Linked DNA regions of Homo sapiens: regions 1, 2, 4, 5, 6 and 7 are each linked to region 3. The links are contacts of gene promoters, found by promoter capture Hi-C in blood cells and fetal thymus (Javierre and others, 2016). All regions are on one chromosome and are shown on one strand. The core of a region is centred on a gene start or on the middle of the fragment in contact, and the rest is flanking DNA. Distances in the headings are between cores, read along the strand shown. Region 1 has its middle 62 kb from the start of MAPRE2. Region 2 overlaps ZSCAN30 (zinc finger and SCAN domain containing 30). Region 3 holds the start of RMP24 (ribonuclease MRP subunit p24). Region 4 overlaps LOC105372063 (a long non-coding RNA gene). Region 5 overlaps KIAA1328. Region 6 has its middle 13 kb from the start of ZNF396. Region 7 has its middle 21 kb from the start of MAPRE2.

Region 1 (2,700 bases), core at 41-2,540, 990 kb after region 3:
AGGCGGGTGGATCACCTCAGGTCAGGAGTTCAAGACCGGCCTGGCCAACATGGTGAAACCCCATCTCTATAAAAATACAAAAATTAGCTGGGCATGATGATGTGTGCCTGTAATCCCAGCTACTCAGGAGGCTGAGGCAGGAGAATCGCTTGAACTTGGAGGCGGAGGTTGCAGTGAGCCGAAATCGTGCCAGCCTGGGCAACAGAGTGAGACTCTGTCTCAAAAAAAAAAAAAAAAAAAAAAAGAAAAAAAGAAAAAGAAAAAGAAAAGAAAAGAAATTGAGGAAGGGGAAGAAAGCATTTAGACAACAGTGCAGAGAGTGATAGTGATATTAAAAATAGTGAAGAGGTATTAAAACTGAAAGAAGAAAAAGAAAGTTTGTTTTTTGATGACTCTAAGATAACCTGTTAAAGATACAGAGAACCAGAGATAACAGGTTATCCTGGAGTAATCCTTTTGGGATGACAGTTTTAAAGGCAAGAAACCTTTGGTTAATAGCCAACATGAGGTTTTATATAAAATGTTAAGTGTAACCATTTCTATTTAAATAGATCATTTAATTCACTCCTGGATGTATAATCAAGTAGTATTTGACTTTTTTGTATGCAAAATTTATGTGTTACATATTCATCCTTTCTGCTTCACATAACTGAAATAACCCAAACCAGTTTACACTTTCCCAACAGTTTTTTTTTTACATGCTTCCCACCAAGAAAGTTACAGGATGTCTAGTTAGCTTTGTGTTTCCCCTTCTAACAGAAGAGAGCATTATATGAAACAGGCAGAATGGTGTGCTACAAAGGGAGTGGCTCCTGCAAGCAAGTAGATCCTGATCAGATATTAAATGTGCTTTCAAAGGAGTGCAGTTTGTGCGTGTCAACAAACTACTCGCTGTAATTACTTCCTATTCACTGGGATCGCTGTGCAGCCTGCTGACTCACCAGGCTGCTGGAGTATGTTTCTGCTGGGTTTTCCTACTGACTGCTACACATGAGTCATCACAGGAATGGAAGTTTCTATCCGTCTCCCTTAACAACAGTGCAGAAACCAGGCATTGAAGTAAGCTTCGATTTTTCCAATCAGACCCTAGCCAGGGAAGGGAAAAATGTTGTGGTAGGTGTCACCACCAGCTAGGCTGCTAGATGACAGTTCCCCGCCCCAGGGTGTTAGTCATCGGCACTCCAGTTTCAGCGTCTTTTCTCTCACCCACCCAAGTAGTTAAAGTGGCATCTTGTCTTGCAATGCCTGCTGCTGCTGGCCGCTGAACTCTTCCTTTGCTGTAGAGTTTCCCCAACTTGGCTGCACAATGAAGTTACCAGGAGTTGTTTTTGCTTTTAAATACTGTGCCTATTTCTCACTCCCAAACAACCTGATTTAAATAGTTTGGGATGTGATCAGGACATCAGGAGTTCTCAAAGCTCCCCAGATGATTCCACTATGCAGCAAAATTTGAGAACCAGTGCTTTGAAGAAGCATAGCTCTACCCACGCAAGGAAAATTTACCAGTTAAGCTTATCTACCAATCACTCGGTGAGCTCCCGGACCTCTTATCTTACCCCTAACTGATGTCTTTAATCAGTTTGGCAGAAAAGAACGAAAGCAAAGTAAGGAAGCATTTCATTTCCAGAGGGGACACTGGCTAACCAAGAGCCATACCCCTTTTTGCTTGATAAAAATTTGGCCAAATTTAGCGTTCAGGAGAAGCAGGGGAAATGTTGCCATTCTTCAGATTACCTTTTGATCTCTGTTCTGTTTCATTCCACAGTGTCCTATTCAGCAAAAGTGTAAATCGCGGGTCCTCAGATTAGAAGTAGGTGCTGCGTCTGACCACAATCGCAACCGGTCTGCACACTTCACCCCAGCTGGGACCGAACCTCCGCCTCGCAGCGCGGCCCCAGGGTCGATACTATGCTAATCAAGGAAGTTCTTCCGTTTCGGTGCGCGCGGGCGCGGGTTTGAGCGCTTAACCCTTCATTCTACATTGACAGCACGATAGTATTTTTAGTGACCTCTTCCTGCCTAGCGGGTCTACACTATTTTCCTTTTGTTCTTCTTTTTTTGGAAAAGGAGATGTGAACAAGTGATAGAGAAGACAATCAGGGAGGGGACAGCAGTGTTGGCTGGTGCGGAGGTGAAGGAAAGGCTAATGTTCGTAATATTAATTACTCCCAGCGCTACTGACCCAGCGAGGACTAGCAGGAGGGGCTTGGGGGTTAAGACAAAGGCTTCTCCTGATCAAATGGCTGCAGCGCCCCTTCTCCGAGGTTACGGCTCTGCCCTTGGCACTGTATTGACGAAGTCACTGGAGGAGTGACCAAACCCACTAGCCCTTTTGGGGTCTGAAAATCAGCTTTATCGAGCGCCCCAGGTTCAGAGGGGACCGCTTTCCGCGTCCACCCCTCTCCTGGCTCTTTGTGGGATTTCTGGCTTCCGCATAGCCCTTCTAAGGGTAGACCGAAGAATTTCCCACTAAGCCGAGTGCGAAGTCGCTGAGTAGCCCTCGCCCTGCGCTCCCGGGGCTCCCTGCAGAAGAGATGCTTGGGCGCAGAATAACAACCCGCTTCCTTTTGCACCCACCCGGCTCCTGAGTCCCGGGAGCGCGGATGGTGGCCGGCGTCGGAGTGGGAGAGTGGTGGCTGCCGAAGGGGAAGTGCCCGGGGTCCAGGGGATGCTCCCAAGCGCGCGAGCGCCAGCGCGCTG
Region 2 (2,700 bases), core at 105-2,604, 710 kb after region 3:
CCCTGTGTAACATGAGCATTGTCCACCCTCAGGAGCGTCCTGGGGAGTTGGAATTCAGAAGGAATCTCTCAGACGCAAATCTCCATCTCCTCCCTGCCTCACCTGGGCAGCCTTTTCAGACTGTCTCTGCCCAGAATGTCAGGAGAGGCCACAGTCTTGGCCTACCATGCTCCAGAAGAACAGGAAGGACTTCTAGTTGTCAAGGTTGAAGAAGAAAATTATGTTTTGGACCAGGACTTTGGCCTTCAGGAAAACCCCTGGAGCCAAGAGGTATTCCGGCAGAAGTTCAGGCAGTTTAGTTACTCTGACTCCACTGGCCCTCGGGAGGCTCTGAGCCGGCTGCGAGAGCTTTGCTGTCAGTGGTTGAGGCCGGAGGTGCACTCCAAGGAGCAGATCCTGGAGCTGCTGATGTTGGAGCAGTTCCTGGCCATCCTTCCTGAGGAGCTGCAAGCTTGGCTGCGAGAGCATCGGCCAGAGAATGGAGAGGAAGCTGTGACTATGCTGGAGGAGCTGGAAAAAGAACTGGAGGAGCCAAGGCAACAGGTAAGAAGTAAACATTTTTGTTTGTTTGATCTATTGTAAGTTAATGGGGAAGCCATAATTATGACTGGGGCATTGACTCAGCTCTCAGAGAATTATACAGTTTCTTTCTTTTGGGTTATTAATTATTCACTCATTGGGTTCAAGTCACTAGGGCTCTTAAGGTCCTGTTTTTTTTCTCTCTAATCATTTGAATGAGTTTTTGATTCTTCTGTTCCTGCCCTGTTGCTCTAGGAGTTTTCTGCTTGTGTATCCTCAGAATGATAGTGCTGGTACTTGATTACTCCTAGGACACAACTCATGGCCAAGAAATGTTCTGGCAGGAAATGACATCCACAGGAGCACTGAAGTCTCTGTCTCTGAATAGCCCGGTGCAGCCCTTAGAGAACCAGTGCAAGACTGAGACTCAGGAGTCCCAGGCTTTCCAGGAGAGAGGTGAGAAGCCCCAGTCCATGTGGGGTTGAGGATGGAGGTGAGAGCTATCAACTGTGGCACGGTTCATTTTCTTAACGACAGCCACTTGTGGCTATCACTAAGTATTGTGGAAAGGCTTCTTTGCCTAGAAATATTCTTCCTTAGGCTCTGCCTAGAATCTGAAATTCCAGTATCATTTGTAACTTTGGGTTAAGAATTAAAGTCTTTAGTAAAATTCTCTAATACCCATAATTATTTTTTTTCTTTTTCTTTTTTCTTTTTTTTTTTTTTAGATGGGGTCTCACTCTATCACCCAGGTTGGAGTGCAGTGGTGCAACCACAGCTCACTGCAGCAGCCTTGAACCCCTGGGTTAAAGTGATCCTCCTGCCTCAGCCTCCAGAGTAGCTAGGACTACAGTTGTACACCACCATGCCTGGCTAAATATCCATAATATTCAAAGCTCAGTATTCTGTTATTTAATTTTGGCTTCATTGGCAAGACAGTCCCTAAGATGGAGATGAATACATTTTCAGTAATAGAAACCACATAATCATTTGAACAGGGAAAGTTTAATGTTAAGAATTATTAACTACTAAGTGTTATAACAAAAAGTGAAACTCAAAAGAATACAGCAATAACAGATATAGAGTGTCTCTAGGGCTGAGGCAGAACATCAAAGGTAAGAACAAATTTGCAGGAGGGTGCCACAACTTCCCCTTTCCTGCCAGGTCTTAGATCCAGGCCTTGTTGGAGAGGGCACAGCCACAGCCCACTGGATGGAGATGCCACTGCAGTGCTGAGCTGGCAGAACTCACTGAGGAGCCACACTCTGGGGTGCTAGAAGCTCCCCATGGGGAGCTGACCTGGTACAGAACTTGCTGGGAAGCTACCCATAGGGATGGGGCCTTTGGAACTCATTGGGATGTGCACTGCTGGGTGTCCCATGTGCTACAGAAACAAACACAAAGAACATGCCAGAACCAGGAAGAAAAGCCCTTTCTTCCAGTTCCTCTGCAACCCCCTCTATTGATAAAGCTCACAGCATGCCAGCTGGCAAATAGTCCAGTATCACAGACAGGGCAATGAAGCGTAGATTTGAAACTGAGGCAATAAATTGATAGCTGTCACAGATGCCAGGGATTAGAACTGAAAGGACTTTGATTATGTTATTGGCAAAATCATCCTTATGGGCAGCAGATATATCAGGTATACCAGCTTGTTCTCATTAATCTTTTGTTAAATCTGACTACCCTTCTGATTTTGTCTTCACCAAGCAATCTTATTAACTTCCTATGAAGCTTAGCTGTAATAAGAAAATTGCATTTGTTCAGTCTGGTCCATGTGATGGTTACATTACTCATTAATTCTCATTCTGTTTTTATTACTGAGTTTCACGGGCTTAGTTATTAAGAGTCTACCCCAAGAGATAAATCTATTTTTTGTATGATGATAAAATTAGGTATATGAGGACCTAAGCCCAAAGGCCAGACCCTGGACCTCGGCAGTTCACCAAAGGAATCCATACCATCCATCCACTGAATTCTTCTGGGAAACTGCTTCCCAACCTTCCCCAGGCATCATACCCTGATACTACCATTAGCCAAGCAGGCCCTCTTAAGTATCTTCTGCACCAAGCAGGTGCTACATTAAAACGGGTTTTGAAAATTCATCTCAAGGAAATCAAGCTGTCTCTATTTGCAGATAATATGATCCCATGTCTAGAAAACCCTATCGTCTCAGCCCCA
Region 3 (2,700 bases), core at 141-2,640:
AAAGCAAGGAGACCTAGTGTGACTGGAGTTGCGTGAAGGAAAGAGTACGTCAGAGAGGTATGCAGGTCTATGACACAGGGCCTTACAATCCTTTTAAAGGACTTTCACTTTTATTAATCCAGGAGAGAGCTGGTGATGGCCTGGAGCAGGGTAGTAGCAATGGATGTGGTGAGGAGTGGAGTGCAATGGCGCCATCTCCGCTCACTGCAACCTCCACCTCCCGGGTTCAAGAGATTCTCATGCCTCACCCTCTCGAGTAGCTGGGATTACAGGCGTGCACCACCATGCCAGGTAATTTTTTTGTATTTTTAGTAGAGACAGCGTTTCGCCATGTTGGCCAGGTTGGTCTCGAACTCCTGGCCTCAAATGATCCGCCCGCCTCTGCATCTCAAAGTGCTGGGATTACAGGGGTGAGCCACCGCTCCTGGCTGATTTTGGCTACATTTTAAAGCCAACAGGATTTGCTCGCATACTGGCCTGGGGGAGGAGAGAGAGTTAGGGAGTCAAGAATAGCTCCAAGGTTTTTGGGCTCAATAACTGTAAGGGAAGAATGGAATTATTTACTGAAATGAGAAAAACTGGAGGATCTTGTTGGGGGTTAAAGCTCAGGTTTTGGACATATTAGCTAAGTTTGAATTACTAGACATTGAAAAGAATTTGTCAAGAAGACATTCGGATATATGAGTCTAGAATTCAGAGGAGAGGTCTGCGCTGAGTATATACATTTGTAAGTCCTCAGTATATGGTATTTAAAAGCCATGAGATTGGATGAAAAACTGTCACCAAGGAAGCGAGTGTGCCTAGAAAAGAGGTCCAAGGGCTGAGTACTGGGCCACGACAATACTTAAAGCTTGGGGAGATTAGGAGGAACCAGCAAAGCAAATCGAGAAGTAATAAATGAAGAGGTGAACTACGTAATGACCTAGAAGCCAAGGGAGGAAACTATTTCAAGACTGATCAATGTGTCAAATGCCGCTAACAAAGCAAGACAAGGCACATTAAAGAATTTGGATTTTTCACGAAACCGAGACACATGCGGGCTTTGTTGTTGTTGTTTTTATGGAGGGAAGTGAGTCCATCGGCCTTATTTGAGCGTTGTGCGGAACAGAGGAAAGCGGGGCGACAAGAGCCCAAAGCACAAGAGACAGGCGTTCTTCTTACCGTGCGACGAAGTGTAGGCCCAGCTGTAAAAGAGAAAGAGACTTGTGAGGAGCAAAGGAACACCTACCCGCTCGCCTCCCGCTTCCCCTCCAGTCCTCTTACAGGAGGTAGCGGGCTTGGCCCGGGCAGCTGTCGTGCAGTCCCCGCGCTGCAGCCTCAAGGTAGTGCTTCTGTCTCATCGCCGCCGCCGCTGCCGCTGGCTCGCCGCGGGAACCAGGTGAGAAAATAGGGCGCCGGAAGTCGGCTTCCCAGCGTCCCCGTCGTTGGTGTCCGGACTCAAGCTGCTTCCGGAAACAGGCACCGTAGGCAGACAGGTTCCGGTTTCCTTCGCGTCCAGTCTGGCTTGGAGGCGTGCCCAGCCGGGAGGCGGCCCCACCCGCCCGCCGCGTCCCCGCCCCCTCAGTTCCACCCCTTGGCCTGCCGGGTCCTCTCAGGCACCCAGCGGAGTTTCGAGTCAGACTTGAGCTCGGGCGTAGCGGCTAGACCGGGCTGTGGCGATAGAGTCCAAAGGTGAGGCTCCCACCCGCCTCTCCATCTTCCTCCCGCCTCGCCTCCTCTCTGACAGCCCTTTTGTGATTGCCCTGCCGCAGCTTCGCCCTCCACATTCGCCGGGCGCGGTACTGACTGGTGCGCCGGCGGGCGGAAGCGCTGCCAGCAACGAGGCGGCCGGGAGGAGCGTCCCCAGTCCAGCCTGCCCTCCGCCTGCGTAAACGCTAGCGTTTCTCTTTTTGTAATTAAAGTGAAATTCACATAACGTAATATTGACCATTTTAAGGTGAACAATTCAGTGGCGTTTAGTAAATTTACAATGTTGTGCAAGCACCATTCTGCTATTTCCAAAATATTTCGCCGAAGGACAGCCAACTCCATGAAGCACTTACGGCCAATCCTCCTCTCCCTCCCAGGCCTTGGCAACCACCAGTCCGCTTTCTGTCTCTATGGATTTACCTATTCTGGGCATTTCATGTAAATGGAATCATACACACGACCTTTTGTGTCTGGCTTCCTTCACCTAGCATAATGTATCAGGTTCATCCACCTTGCAGCACGTATCAGTACTTCATTCGTTGTTATGGCTGAATAATATTCCATTGTATGGCGGTATCACAATGGTTTATCCATTCATCAGTTGAACGTTTGAATTGTTTCTACTTTTTGGCTGTTATGAATGAATGCCGCTGTGAACATGTGTGTACATGCATTTGTTTGAGTGCCTTTTTTCTGTTCTTCGGGGTATAATACCTAAGAGTAGATCTGCTGGGTTATGTAGTAATTCTGTGCTTAATGAGGGTTCCAGTTTCTCCGTATCCTCACCAACATTTGCTTTTCTTTTTCTTTTTTTTTTAAATCTAGCCTTCCTAGTGAGTATGATGTAGCATCTCATTGTGGTTTTGATTAACATTTCCCTGACTACTGATGCTTTTGAGCAGCTTTTCATGTGCTTGTTGGCAATTTATGTATCTTTGGCTGTTTAAGTTCTTTGCTCATTTTTTATTGGAGTTGTCTTTTTGTTGATAAGTTGTAAGGTTCTTTTAATGT
Region 4 (2,700 bases), core at 121-2,620, 570 kb after region 3:
TTTTATTTTTTAAAAAAGAATTTTTGAGAATAGTTTTTGAATAAAAGTATTTTATAGGTTCACTGGTATAATAAAATTAATTTGTTAATTAATAAAGGTTTCAAAAAAGTATATAATTACATTCAGTGGCCTTTCTCAGTGTAAACATGCCCTGGTGTAGACATAAATTACAGTCACTCTTATTAATTGTGTCTTCTCTTTTTTTCTTGAAGGGTCTCACCAGTGGTTTATTGATTGGATGTCTTTGAAAGAACTATAGCTTTGTTATCATTTTTATTGTATGTATTGTATTACATACACATTACATTATGTATTGTATTACATACACATATACATTATGTATTGTATTACAATAAAAATGTAATACATTTTTATTGTATTTATCATTTTATTGTATGTTTTCTTTTTTTATTGTTTTTATTTTATTTCTAATATGTTCTTTCTTCTACTGTATTTTGCTATATTTTATTGTTCTTTTTCTTTTTTTTTTTTTTGAGACGGAGTCTGGCTCTGTCGCCCAGGCTGGAGTGCAGTGACGCCATCTCGGCTCACTGCAAGCTCCGCCTCCCGGGTTCACGCCATTCTCCTGCCTCAGCCTCCCGAGTAGCTAGGACTACAGGCGCCCACCACCACGCCCCGCTAATTTTTTGTATTTTTAGTAGAGACGGGGTTTCACCATGTTAGCCAGGATGGTCTCGATCTCCTGACCTCGTGATCCGCCCACCTCGGCCTCCCAAAGTGCTGGGATTACAGGCGTGAGCCACGGCACCCAGCCTATTGTGCCTTTTCTAACCTTTTGAAATGAATGCTTTCTTTGTTAATTTTCACCTTTTATGCACTAAAGATTACAAGTTTTCTTTTCAGTACTGCCTTAGCTACATCTTACATTTTAATGTGTAGTATTTTACTACCATTTACTTATTTTAATTGGGAGTTAATTGTTATTCATTTTAGTATTTTTAATTTATATTTAAATTACTTTAAATTGACAAATAAATTGGATATATTCATCATGTACCACGTGATGTTTTGAAATATGTATACATTGTAGAATGGCTAAATCAAGCTAATTAACATACTCATTACCTTACATACTTATCACTGTGGTGAGAACATTTAAAATCTACTCTTGGTGATTCAAGATATCACCATTTAATTTAAAATGTTTTATAATATTCATTGTAAATTATTTTTGGACACATGGATTATTTAGAAATATATTTTATAATCTCCAAACATAAGAATATTTTTAAAGTTGTCTTTTTGTAATTTTGTAATTAATTTCTAGCTTAATTGCATTGTGGTAAGCAAACATTCTGTATAATTTTAATCCTGTGAAAATTGTGTATGATTTTCAACCCTGTGAGATTTGTTGAGACTTACTTTAGAGCCCAGCATATGGTCAGTTTTGGTGAAGATTCCATGCGTCCTTGAAAAGAAAATGTATTCAGCAGTTGTTGGGTGCAGTATTCTGTATATTCTGTATATATTAAATATATATTCTATATTCTGTATAGAAATCCAGTTTATTAATTGAATTGTTCAAATCTTCTAAATTTTTGCTGAGTTTTTTGTCTGCTCAATTCTATGTTTCCAAGAGAAATACAGGATATTAGCTACAAGACTTCTGTACATGCTAAATAACAGTGACTTAAACAAGACAGAGAGTTTATTTCCCCTTGGTGTGAAAGTCTCAGTAGGTGGGTGAACAAGGAGTGTATGTGTCTCTGCAACTTACTATTATTCAGGGATCCAGGTTATTCTATCTGTGGCTTCAGCCAACCCCTACAGGGTTGTTCACATCTACCAGGTAGAAATAGGCCAATCATTTGCATGACCATTTTCTACTTTATAGAAATAAAATGTAAGCTGAGAGCAAGGAGCTTTCTTTTCAGGATATGAGTGGGAAGTTACTTACACACATGGTCACACCTTGCTGCATGGGGGGCTGGGAGGTGTTTTGCCCTTGAGTGGCTGTATTCATTTCCTACTGCTGCTGTTACAAATTACCACAAACGTGGTGACTTAAAACAGCATGAATTTATTGTTTTACAGTTCTAGAAGTTAGAAGTGTAAAATGGTCTAACTTGGCTAAAACAAAGGTGTTGTCAGGGCTGTGCCAACAGCCTTGGAGCCTTCTAGAGGCTACATGAGAGAATCTGTTTCCTTGTCTTTTCCAGCTTCTAGAGATCGCCTACATTCCATGGCTCATGGCCCCTTCTTCCACCTTCACGTCCAGCAATGTAGCACATTCGTTTCTCTGACTCCAACCTCTTCTTCTGCCTCCCTCTTCCATTTAAAGACCCTGTGCTTACACTGGACCCACCAGGATTATCCAAGATAATTTCTTATTTTTAAAGTTAGTTAATTAGCAACCTTAATTCCATCTGCAATCTTAATTCCCCCATGCCAGGCAACATAACATAGTCACAGGTTTCAGGGATAGAACATGGCCATCTTTGGAGAACATTAGTCTGTCTACCACACCTGCCATTCTCAATGTGCTTGCATTTCATTTTTTGCTTTATTATCTCATGATTTCCAAACCGTGCAGCTTCAAGCATCACTTTCTTACACAACTGCATTGAAGTCAGGAAGAAAATGGCAAGGGGGAAAGGGCTTTCCTTTTATCAGGAGCAAAGTCTTTCCCAAATGCTTTCCAGGTCATTTTTTCCTTTGTTCTCATTGCTAATAACTGGA
Region 5 (2,700 bases), core at 148-2,647, 870 kb before region 3:
TCTTTTCTCTGGTGCAACACTATCTACCTGTTTCAATTTAAACCTACTGTGAACTAAAAACAGGCTAAGGAACTGACTGTCCACTAGGACACTTCATGAGATTTACACAGAGAAGCAAACAGAAAGTAAAAGCAGATATCCCCTGCTTAAATACTGGGGTTTATTAGGAAAACAACTTTCCCTTTGTGAATGTCATAGAAACAAATACTCAACAGAAGATACTGAGAACTGTTATTACACCATAGTCCCCACGCTGCTTAAGGGTATACGAAGATTAGCAGCAGAGGCACCAGTTACTAAGCATTCAAAATATCCTAAGGTTCATCCCAAAGAGTACTAAACCAAAGAGTAATAATAGCAATAGCTAACAATTACATCTAGTGCTCACTTCATGCCAGGAATATTGTAAGCACTTTGTACTTACTATTCCATTTTATTTGCACAACAACGCTATTAAGTATTAATAGTTACTATTCCTATTCTACTTTAAGGGTACATATCCAGGATTATAGCAATTAAATAGCAGAATCAAGACTTAAACACAGGTTCCAGAGTCTGTGCTCTTTAAACACCATATTATTCTAATCTTTTGTGCTACAAAAACTTTTCCCCAGCACCTCAGCATCATTAGGAGGGGTCCTTAAAGACATAAACTCAGGGAGTCACGAAGGAATCGTAGGTAACATGTAAAAGGAAGGAGCTGTAATCCTTGGCATTTGCGCAACCACCAAAGTTAAGTTAGTCCAATTACCTCGGGTAGCCAAGAATAACTGAAAACACCTAAAGTGAATTCTGGAAATAGTAATAGCCGAAGGTGGGAAAGAGAGTAGGGAAAAAAATGGAGAAAAGAAGATGATAATAAAATAAGCTTTGGTTTTAGAAATGCTCAATGTAAGATGCCAGCAAACCATTCATGTGCAAACGTCTAGGCAGGAAGCTGGAAAGGTAGGTCTAGCTTTCAAACTAGAGAAAATCATAAAGATTTAAAAGTCAGTGTATGGTATTATGGATAATGTTAAGATTTTTTATTATTCTTTATACTTTTCTATGTTTTAAATTTTTCTTTAATAATTATGTATTTAAAATTAAGAAAAAATATTAGTATTTTAAAAATCATCTACAAGTCCAGGAAAATTGGCATTTGATTTTAATTTCAATTTAAGTAATTGGATTTTAGTTTAATTTAAAGTGGCATTTGAAAGGACAAGTGGAGAATCAGAAGCATATAACATTGTAGGAGAAAACAAGAAAGAAAAAGTTTCAAGAATAGTGTGGGTTCAACAGTGCTAATGATTAAAAAAGACAAATAGACTGGGGGAAGAAGGCAATGGATTTGGCAATGGAGGAAGTTGCTGATAACCCATGAAAAGACATTTCATTAGTGATGTGCTGAGTAAAAGAACAAAAGAGAAATCTTTGTAACTAGGCAAAAAAAAAAAAATAAATAATTAGTGGCATTGTGTTAACAACAGCAAAAATCTGAAAAGGCAAATGTCTATTAACTACAGAATAGTAAAACTGTGGCTGGCATATTGATACAATGAAATTCTAGAGGTACTGGTAGCTATGATACTAACTTTCCCCCTCAAAACTACCCTTCCACCCTCTGCTTTGAGATGCTAAGTCTAAGACTCTGGAAACACCATTTCTCCTTCGCCACCTGGCACTCTGTTGAACTCTGCCAACACAAAGAACTAGATGAAGACCAGGAAGAAAGAAGGAAGGCTACTTCCTTCCTGTTACTGACAGTGTCACCCCTGAGTTCCTTACCCTGGCAAGTACTGCTGATTCCAGTTTGCAATTTTTTCCAGCCCTTACAGAACCAGCCTTTATCAGGCCTCCTCAGAAATGGCAGTACCAGCCGGGTTGGTGTCCCATCACCAGAGGTCCAAGTTGCAGCTTTAAGGGGCCCCTCCTCTAAGCTTCTAAGTTTCAATAATTCCGACTTATTCTGCCCTCTCATCCAGTTCTAGAGATTGTGGTTGTTTCTTATAGTTACTACTTTCATGATACTTTAATGTTCCCTTTTTGCCTTTTTGGTTCTCGCACTATTCAATAATTTTTCTTTTAAATATTCTAAGTTAAAATAACTGACTAAACCCCGAGACGGTGAAAAGAAATGAAATATAACTACATACAACATAAAGAAATCTCACGTAACATTGGAAGAGCCATAGAGGGAAAAAAAAACAAGAAATCTCATAAACATAATATGAAATAAAAAGCAAATCACACAATACAAATGGATATGAGCTCATTTATATAAAGTTCCAAATATATATGAAATACTGTTTCAAAAAAAATGTATTTACACTGTAGGACAGGGCTTGGTAAACCATGGCTGCAAGCCGAATCTGGCCCACTGGCTGTTTTTGTAAACAAAGGTTTATTAAAACGTGCTCATTCATTTGCATATTGCTTATGGCTCTTTTAATGCTACTGTGGCAGAGTTGAGTTGTTGAGACAGATGTTACAGCCTGCAAAAGTTAAAGTATTTACTACCTGTCCAATTTATAGAAAAAGTCGGCGAACCCCGATATGGAAAAACAAAAGAATTATAAAGTTCAGGATACGAATTACCAAAGAAGAAAACATGATGAGGAAAGGCCACATATCTACAGTCACTTGACTTACAACAATGGTATCATTGCAATTCAAAGAAGAAAAGAATCCTCTTCCCAGTAGATGGTGTTGGGCCAA
Region 6 (2,700 bases), core at 97-2,596, 610 kb after region 3:
AAAAAGATAAGAACTCTTACAAGTTCCTATGACTAAATTTGCCAAATTATTTACACTTTACCCATCATTTCCTCTCCCTCTTCTGAGAATGAGAGAGGGGCCTCTCCCCCGTCTGAGAATGAGAGAGGGGTCTCTCCCCTCTGAGCCTCAGCATTCTCACCTCTGAAAGGCCTTGGCTGCCAGTCATTCTTCCTCTCTTCTATTTCTTCACTCTCTGCCTTCCTTCTGCATCCATCCCTTCAACACTTAAATATGCTGTTGTGACCCTGCCTCCTACCCTATATTTTTCCAGCTTACACTGGCAAAATTCAAGATGGTGGCTAGTCCCTGAGTGAGGGGAATTATGTGGCCCTTAACTTTCCCCTCTTCATATGCATTCATCTCTCAACCAGAGTAATCTTGCTAAGGCATACATTTTATCATGCCCTTTCCCTGTCTAAGACATAGGCTTTCCCTTGTTTTAGGATAAAGTCAGAACTGCTAAACAAGATTGTTAAGGCTCTTTGTGATCTGACCACAGCTTACCACTTCAGCTTCAGCTCTTGCCATTGCCTCTATGCTTCAGCCATTTTGAAATATCAGAAGTCCTCTAGCCTTTGGACCTTTCCATGTACTCCTTTTGAACTCCTATCTAGCTTTCACATGTTACCTAATTCCTGTGTGTTCTTCATGTTTTAGTTTAGGTACCACTTCTTCCCTAACACCCAAAGAGTAGGTTGGAGAGCACCACCACACTCTTATGTTAATTGCATATCAGTCTGTTCTTATCCTTACCATTACATTTATCTCATGAAATAAAATATTTTTAAAGTATTAAATTACAAGTATGGCTGCAAGGAAGAGGAGAATAAATGACACCTTGGGATGGAAAAAGTTATGGAGTAGCAAAAAGAAAAATTTTTAAGGCTCTCCTAGTCCTGGGAAGAGTGAGTCAATGAGAGGGTCAGGCACAGGGTGTCCTTTCACCTCTGTTGCCCAACCCTGCAGAATTTTGGAGGGGGTTAGGGGAGAATCAAGGGGAGAAGGCTGTGCCCCCTTGCCATTGAGTGCATTGGGAGGAAAATTGTTGAACAGACTGCTAGTGCTCCAACACTGAACTCTCATAAAAACAGCCATTCAGTGTTAGGTAAATGGCTTCTATCAGCTAGTATGTGGCTTGAAAGAGATACGGCAGTTCTCTGTGCCCAGTGGGAACCTTGGAAAATAGCTGACTATAGAGCTGGAAAGTTGGGATAGTTGAGCAAGTAACCTTGTGGATCCTGTAGCTAAGAGCTGCAGGGCCCACCAGACCTTACTGGGGACCTATAGCTCTTCCTAGAAACAAAGTGGAGGCAAATCACCAAGGAAGAGACACTGGCCCCCAGCCCAACCAAAAAAACAGATGATTTGTTGCCGCAGGTTTGGTGAGCAAGCACCACAGAAGACCAGCTGCCCAGAATAGAAACCAGAGAAGATCAGAACAGCAAGCCCACCTAACACCTAATCCATAGCACCACCTCATCACAGGGAATGTATGCCCCCCTCACCTTCCCAAGCAGGTGGCAGAAAAGGGCAGAGTGAGAAATAGCCATGAGAGGGAGTTGAACTTAAAATGGACTGAATAATTCAATTTCATAATAACTAAATATAGCAATTTAATTCAGCTCTTTCACCACCCACCCACCCACCCAATGGGGCAAGGATTCAAGAAAAAAGATTATCAGTTATAAAAAATAAACTACATTTTCCTTTGCTTATTTGAGAAGCAATGTGATAACTTTTTGCCCTGCTAAATGGAGATTATATCTATTTCTGTATTGACTCCACTATTTCATGCTGCCTGAGAGCATAAGCTGCCTCATTTACCATTGTTTCCCAAGCATCTGGCACAGTACGTGGCCCATAATAGGCACTCAAATACTTGTGGAACAAAAATATTTGAAAATTATATATCTGATAAGGGATTACTATCTAGAATATATAAAGAACCCCTCCAACTCAACAACAACAGAAATTTCAAAAATGGGCAAAGGTCATGAATAGACACTTCTCAAAGAGGATACCTAAATGGCCAATAAACACATGAAAAGATGGCCAATGTCACTAATCATTAGGGAAATGCAAATCAAAAGCACAATGAGATACCACTTCACAACCATTAGGATGGTTATTATTTTAAAAAGAAACAGGTATTGGAAAAGATGAGGAGAAATTGGAACCTTTGCACATTGCCATTAGGAATGTAAAATGGTGTAGCTGCTATGGAAAACAGTTTGGTGGTTCCTCAAAAAGTTAAACAAAATTCTCATATGATCCAGTAATTCCACTTCTATGTATATATTCAAAAGATCTGAAAGCAGAGACTCAAACAGGTATCTGTATGCCAATGTTCATAGCAGCATTATTTGAAATAACCAAAAGGTGGAAACTACACAAATGACCATCTACATATGAATGAATAAACAAAATTTGGTATAGACATACAACAGAGTATTATTCAGCCATAAAAACAAATGAAATTCTGATACATGCTACAAGGATGAACCTTAAAAACACTATGCTAAGTGAAATAAGCCAGACATGAAAGGGCAAATGTGATTCTGCTTATTTGAGGTAACTAGAATAGGCAAATTCATAAAGACATAAAGTCAAATAATGATTATCAGGGGCTAGAGGAAAGGGGGAATGGAAGTTATTGTGGATACATGGTTTCTGTTAAAA
Region 7 (2,700 bases), core at 78-2,577, 950 kb after region 3:
TCTTTTACTTTGCTGGAGTTCATCTAGAAATTATTTTTTGAGAGATACAGAGACGTAAAGTTTTCAAACCTTTTCATGTTAGAAGTTATCTATTTGTTTTTATATTTTATTGATAGTTGAAATGTCCAAAATCACTTCCCTCAGAACTTTGAAAGCATGGTTCCACTGCTTCTGAGGCTTCAGAATTGCATATTGATGTCTATAACATTCAGGTGATCACTCTTCTGTATGTAATCACTCTTCTCTCTGACCCTCAAGCTCTAACATCTCTTTTATTCTGAAATTTCATGAGGGTGGACCTAGGTTTGGGTTTTTTAAATTCATCGTGGTCAACATTCAGTAGCCTCTTTTAATCTGAATCTTTATGCCTTTATTTCTTTGTCTTCAATGTCTTCTTGAAACTCTTCATAAAGAATGCCAGGCCATTTAGATCATTCTTCTATTTCTCTAATACTTTTCTAGTATTTTCTGTCTTTTCATCTTTTGCTTTATACCCTGTGATACTCTCAGCCACACTAAGTCCAATTGATTTTTGATTTAATTATATTTTTAATTCGCCAAAGCTCTTGCACTTTCTGATTACCTCTTATTCATAGCAACTCTTTTTTTCTGGGAGGAGTGGGGCCGTGAAGTTTAAGGGATGCAATACTTTTTGTCTGTTTAAGGATATTTATTAAACGTTTTCTTCTATTCTCTGAATTACTTCATCTAAATTAGCTATTTTATTTCTTTTTCAATTTTTGCTCTTATTTAGCTGGCAATATAATCCTATGCCCTTTCCATCTTCCAGAACTTTGTCCATTTCTGGTCCCCATTCATGTTTCTGTAAGTGTCATGGATTTGCTCTCCTTTTTAAATTTTGTTATTTCAGTTGAAGAGCTGGGAAGATGGGAGCAAAACTGTATTTAGACTGTCATCTTAAAACTCACGAATTTTTCTAGAATATACTTGCATCATGTTCAACATTTCCCTCATTGTCTAAAATATAAAGCTTAAGTAATGGTCTGGTATTTGGGACTCTGCACAGTTTGACCCTAGCTTATCTTTCTTCCTTAATCCTCCATTATTCACACTAAAGTACCAGGTTCTCTCTGCCCCCTTGAGATGGCCTACATTTCATTTCTCGCCTGGAATGTCCTTTTTCCTTTCATCTACCATTTTACACAGGCAGGCTCGGCTCAAAGACCACATCTTCTGAAGTCTTTTTGAACATTCCAGGATACCCCTAATTCTGTATCAGTTAAAAATATGTATTGAGTTCCATCCAGACAAATAATTCTGTTTCTTGTGCCAGCAATGGCAATTTTTCCAACCAGAATTTTCTTCTCTGCCATTTTTAGTATATAATCTAAAATCATTTTACCTAAATGAAAATTTAAAAGCAAATGCTTCATGTTTTTATGTCTCACTATACAACGAAAATATCAAATTTATGGACACAGCTTTTTAAATAAAGTAATGTTCTCGAGCCAGGAAATTTTTATTTTATAATTGAGGGGATACGTTTTCTTGAGTAGGAGGCAAGAGTGGTTAGATAGTCTTATTCGAAGACACCTTTACAGAAATAGGTTGCTTCTGGTCAGAGGCAATAATATCAGTATACAAATGTTCTAAGCACTCACTGCACATTTTTTTTTTTTTTGACAAGCCAAGGAAAGCTTTTCTCTAAGCTAAGCACTCACTAAAAGAGGGTGCAAATGGTTCAGGCCAGCTTATAAACCGAAGTAATGTTGCATGAATGGCATTACCTGACACAGGTTTGAACATGGCACTCACCAAGGGCGAAAATAAAGTTAAAGAATTCCATGAGAGAAACTACCAACCAAATATAAAGCATAGTCATTGCCTTGAAAAATCATAACAGAATAACACATCAGCATCCAAAGTAGGATTTAGAGTCCAGCTGGAGAATAAAATATCCTCATGGCCTAGAATCGAGTTCTTTAGGGAGGCACTCTGGGGCTTATCTTGACCTGTATTATTCATTTTTCCTTCTGTAGTTTGATGTTATCCTGATAATCTGTGATTCATCTGAATTGCTTTCTTGAAGACTGAAGCACAGCTAATTTTAGAACAGAGACAAACACATCATGCACACATTTTAAGCAGAATGATATTTGAGGTAAGGGGTGCTGAAAATCTGTGTCATCCACAGTACAAGTAGCCAGGCAACCTGAGGCCGAGCTGATTTTACAGAACTCAGAAGTATGTATTAAGTATCTAATGTCTGGGGAGATAAGTAAACTAGAATGCCTCATCCATTGTTCTTAAGAATATTATTATTTGGAAAGCAAAAATTATACATGTGAAAAAGGTTTTAAAAATCTGAGGTAATATCCAATCAGGAATTCCACGCTGTAATAGAAAACATGTTATATTCACAGGGATATGGGGACACATAGGTATGAGATTGCCACTCAGAGTATTATTTAACCAGTTATGATCTATAAGTTTCAGGCACACCAAAGTTAACTTTGAAACAGACTCCATATGGCAAACAATGGCAAGTTGGATAAATAATGGTCAACTCTACAGACTATTTGACACACATTAAAACATGTCTACAATCATGAATATGTACTGTAGCATGGAAAACTGCTTATGACATAAAGTAAAGAAGAAGAAAATAAAATATGACAAGGCCTGGTTACAACTGTATAAAACTAGCCACATGATAATAGTGGGGGACTTTAACATCCC

What was found. Contacts are between HindIII fragments. The CHiCAGO score rates a contact against its expected background, and 5 or more counts as called.
Region 1: a fragment that was not itself captured here is called in contact with the fragment with the promoter of RMP24 in region 3 in 6 of 17 cell types (total CD8 T cells, fetal thymus, non-activated CD4 T cells and 3 more); the score reaches 12.9 in total CD8 T cells.
Region 2: a fragment that was not itself captured here is called in contact with the fragment with the promoter of RMP24 in region 3 in 3 of 17 cell types (non-activated CD4 T cells, total CD4 T cells and activated CD4 T cells); the score reaches 5.5 in non-activated CD4 T cells.
Region 4: a contact is called between a fragment that was not itself captured here and the fragment with the promoter of RMP24 in region 3, in 10 of 17 cell types (neutrophils, naive B cells, megakaryocytes and 7 more). The highest score is 8.2, in neutrophils.
Region 5: a fragment that was not itself captured here is called in contact with the fragment with the promoter of RMP24 in region 3 in 1 of 17 cell types (total CD8 T cells); the score reaches 5.6 in total CD8 T cells.
Region 6: a contact is called between a fragment that was not itself captured here and the fragment with the promoter of RMP24 in region 3, in 2 of 17 cell types (M2 macrophages and naive CD8 T cells). The highest score is 6.8, in M2 macrophages.
Region 7: a contact is called between a fragment that was not itself captured here and the fragment with the promoter of RMP24 in region 3, in 1 of 17 cell types (total CD4 T cells). The highest score is 5.8, in total CD4 T cells.

Annotation. Positions count from the first base shown.
Region 1 is chr18:34,977,576-34,980,275 of GRCh38, reverse strand. It overlaps a transcript of MAPRE2 not described here. Among named protein-coding and RNA genes, the nearest start is that of MAPRE2, 62 kb to the left of the region's middle. RefSeq lists enhancers at 1,354-1,853, 810-2,009, 1,854-2,355. The HindIII fragment of the contact is 447 bases long and covers 1,067-1,513 here.
Region 2 is chr18:35,261,788-35,264,487 of GRCh38, reverse strand. It overlaps ZSCAN30 (zinc finger and SCAN domain containing 30), which reads left to right. Exons shown (of 4, transcript NM_001112734.4): 2 at 33-543; 3 at 831-975. The coding sequence starts at 136. Among named protein-coding and RNA genes, the nearest start is that of ZNF397, 22 kb to the right of the region's middle. The HindIII fragment of the contact is 1,802 bases long and covers 454-2,255 here.
Region 3 is chr18:35,971,369-35,974,068 of GRCh38, reverse strand. RMP24 (ribonuclease MRP subunit p24) reads right to left here and starts at 1,390. Exons shown (of 5, transcript NM_031446.5): 1 at 1,264-1,390; 2 at 1,162-1,184. The coding sequence starts at 1,340. It overlaps LOC105372066 (a long non-coding RNA gene), which reads left to right and starts at 1,618. Exons shown (of 4, transcript NR_188032.1): 1 at 1,618-1,671. RefSeq lists an enhancer at 708-1,600 and silencers at 1,520-1,669, 1,609-1,903. The HindIII fragment of the contact is 7,007 bases long and covers 853-2,700 here.
Region 4 is chr18:35,399,113-35,401,812 of GRCh38, reverse strand. The region is part of intron 2 of LOC105372063 (a long non-coding RNA gene); the gene reads left to right. Among named protein-coding and RNA genes, the nearest start is that of ZNF396, 23 kb to the right of the region's middle. The HindIII fragment of the contact is 2,979 bases long and covers 1-2,700 here.
Region 5 is chr18:36,841,416-36,844,115 of GRCh38, reverse strand. All of the region lies in intron 3 of KIAA1328, which reads right to left. Among named protein-coding and RNA genes, the nearest start is that of KIAA1328, 14 kb to the right of the region's middle. The HindIII fragment of the contact is 1,054 bases long and covers 871-1,924 here.
Region 6 is chr18:35,363,384-35,366,083 of GRCh38, reverse strand. No RefSeq gene overlaps it. Among named protein-coding and RNA genes, the nearest start is that of ZNF396, 13 kb to the left of the region's middle. The HindIII fragment of the contact is 3,105 bases long and covers 1-2,700 here.
Region 7 is chr18:35,019,494-35,022,193 of GRCh38, reverse strand. It overlaps a transcript of MAPRE2 not described here. Among named protein-coding and RNA genes, the nearest start is that of MAPRE2, 21 kb to the left of the region's middle. The HindIII fragment of the contact is 667 bases long and covers 994-1,660 here.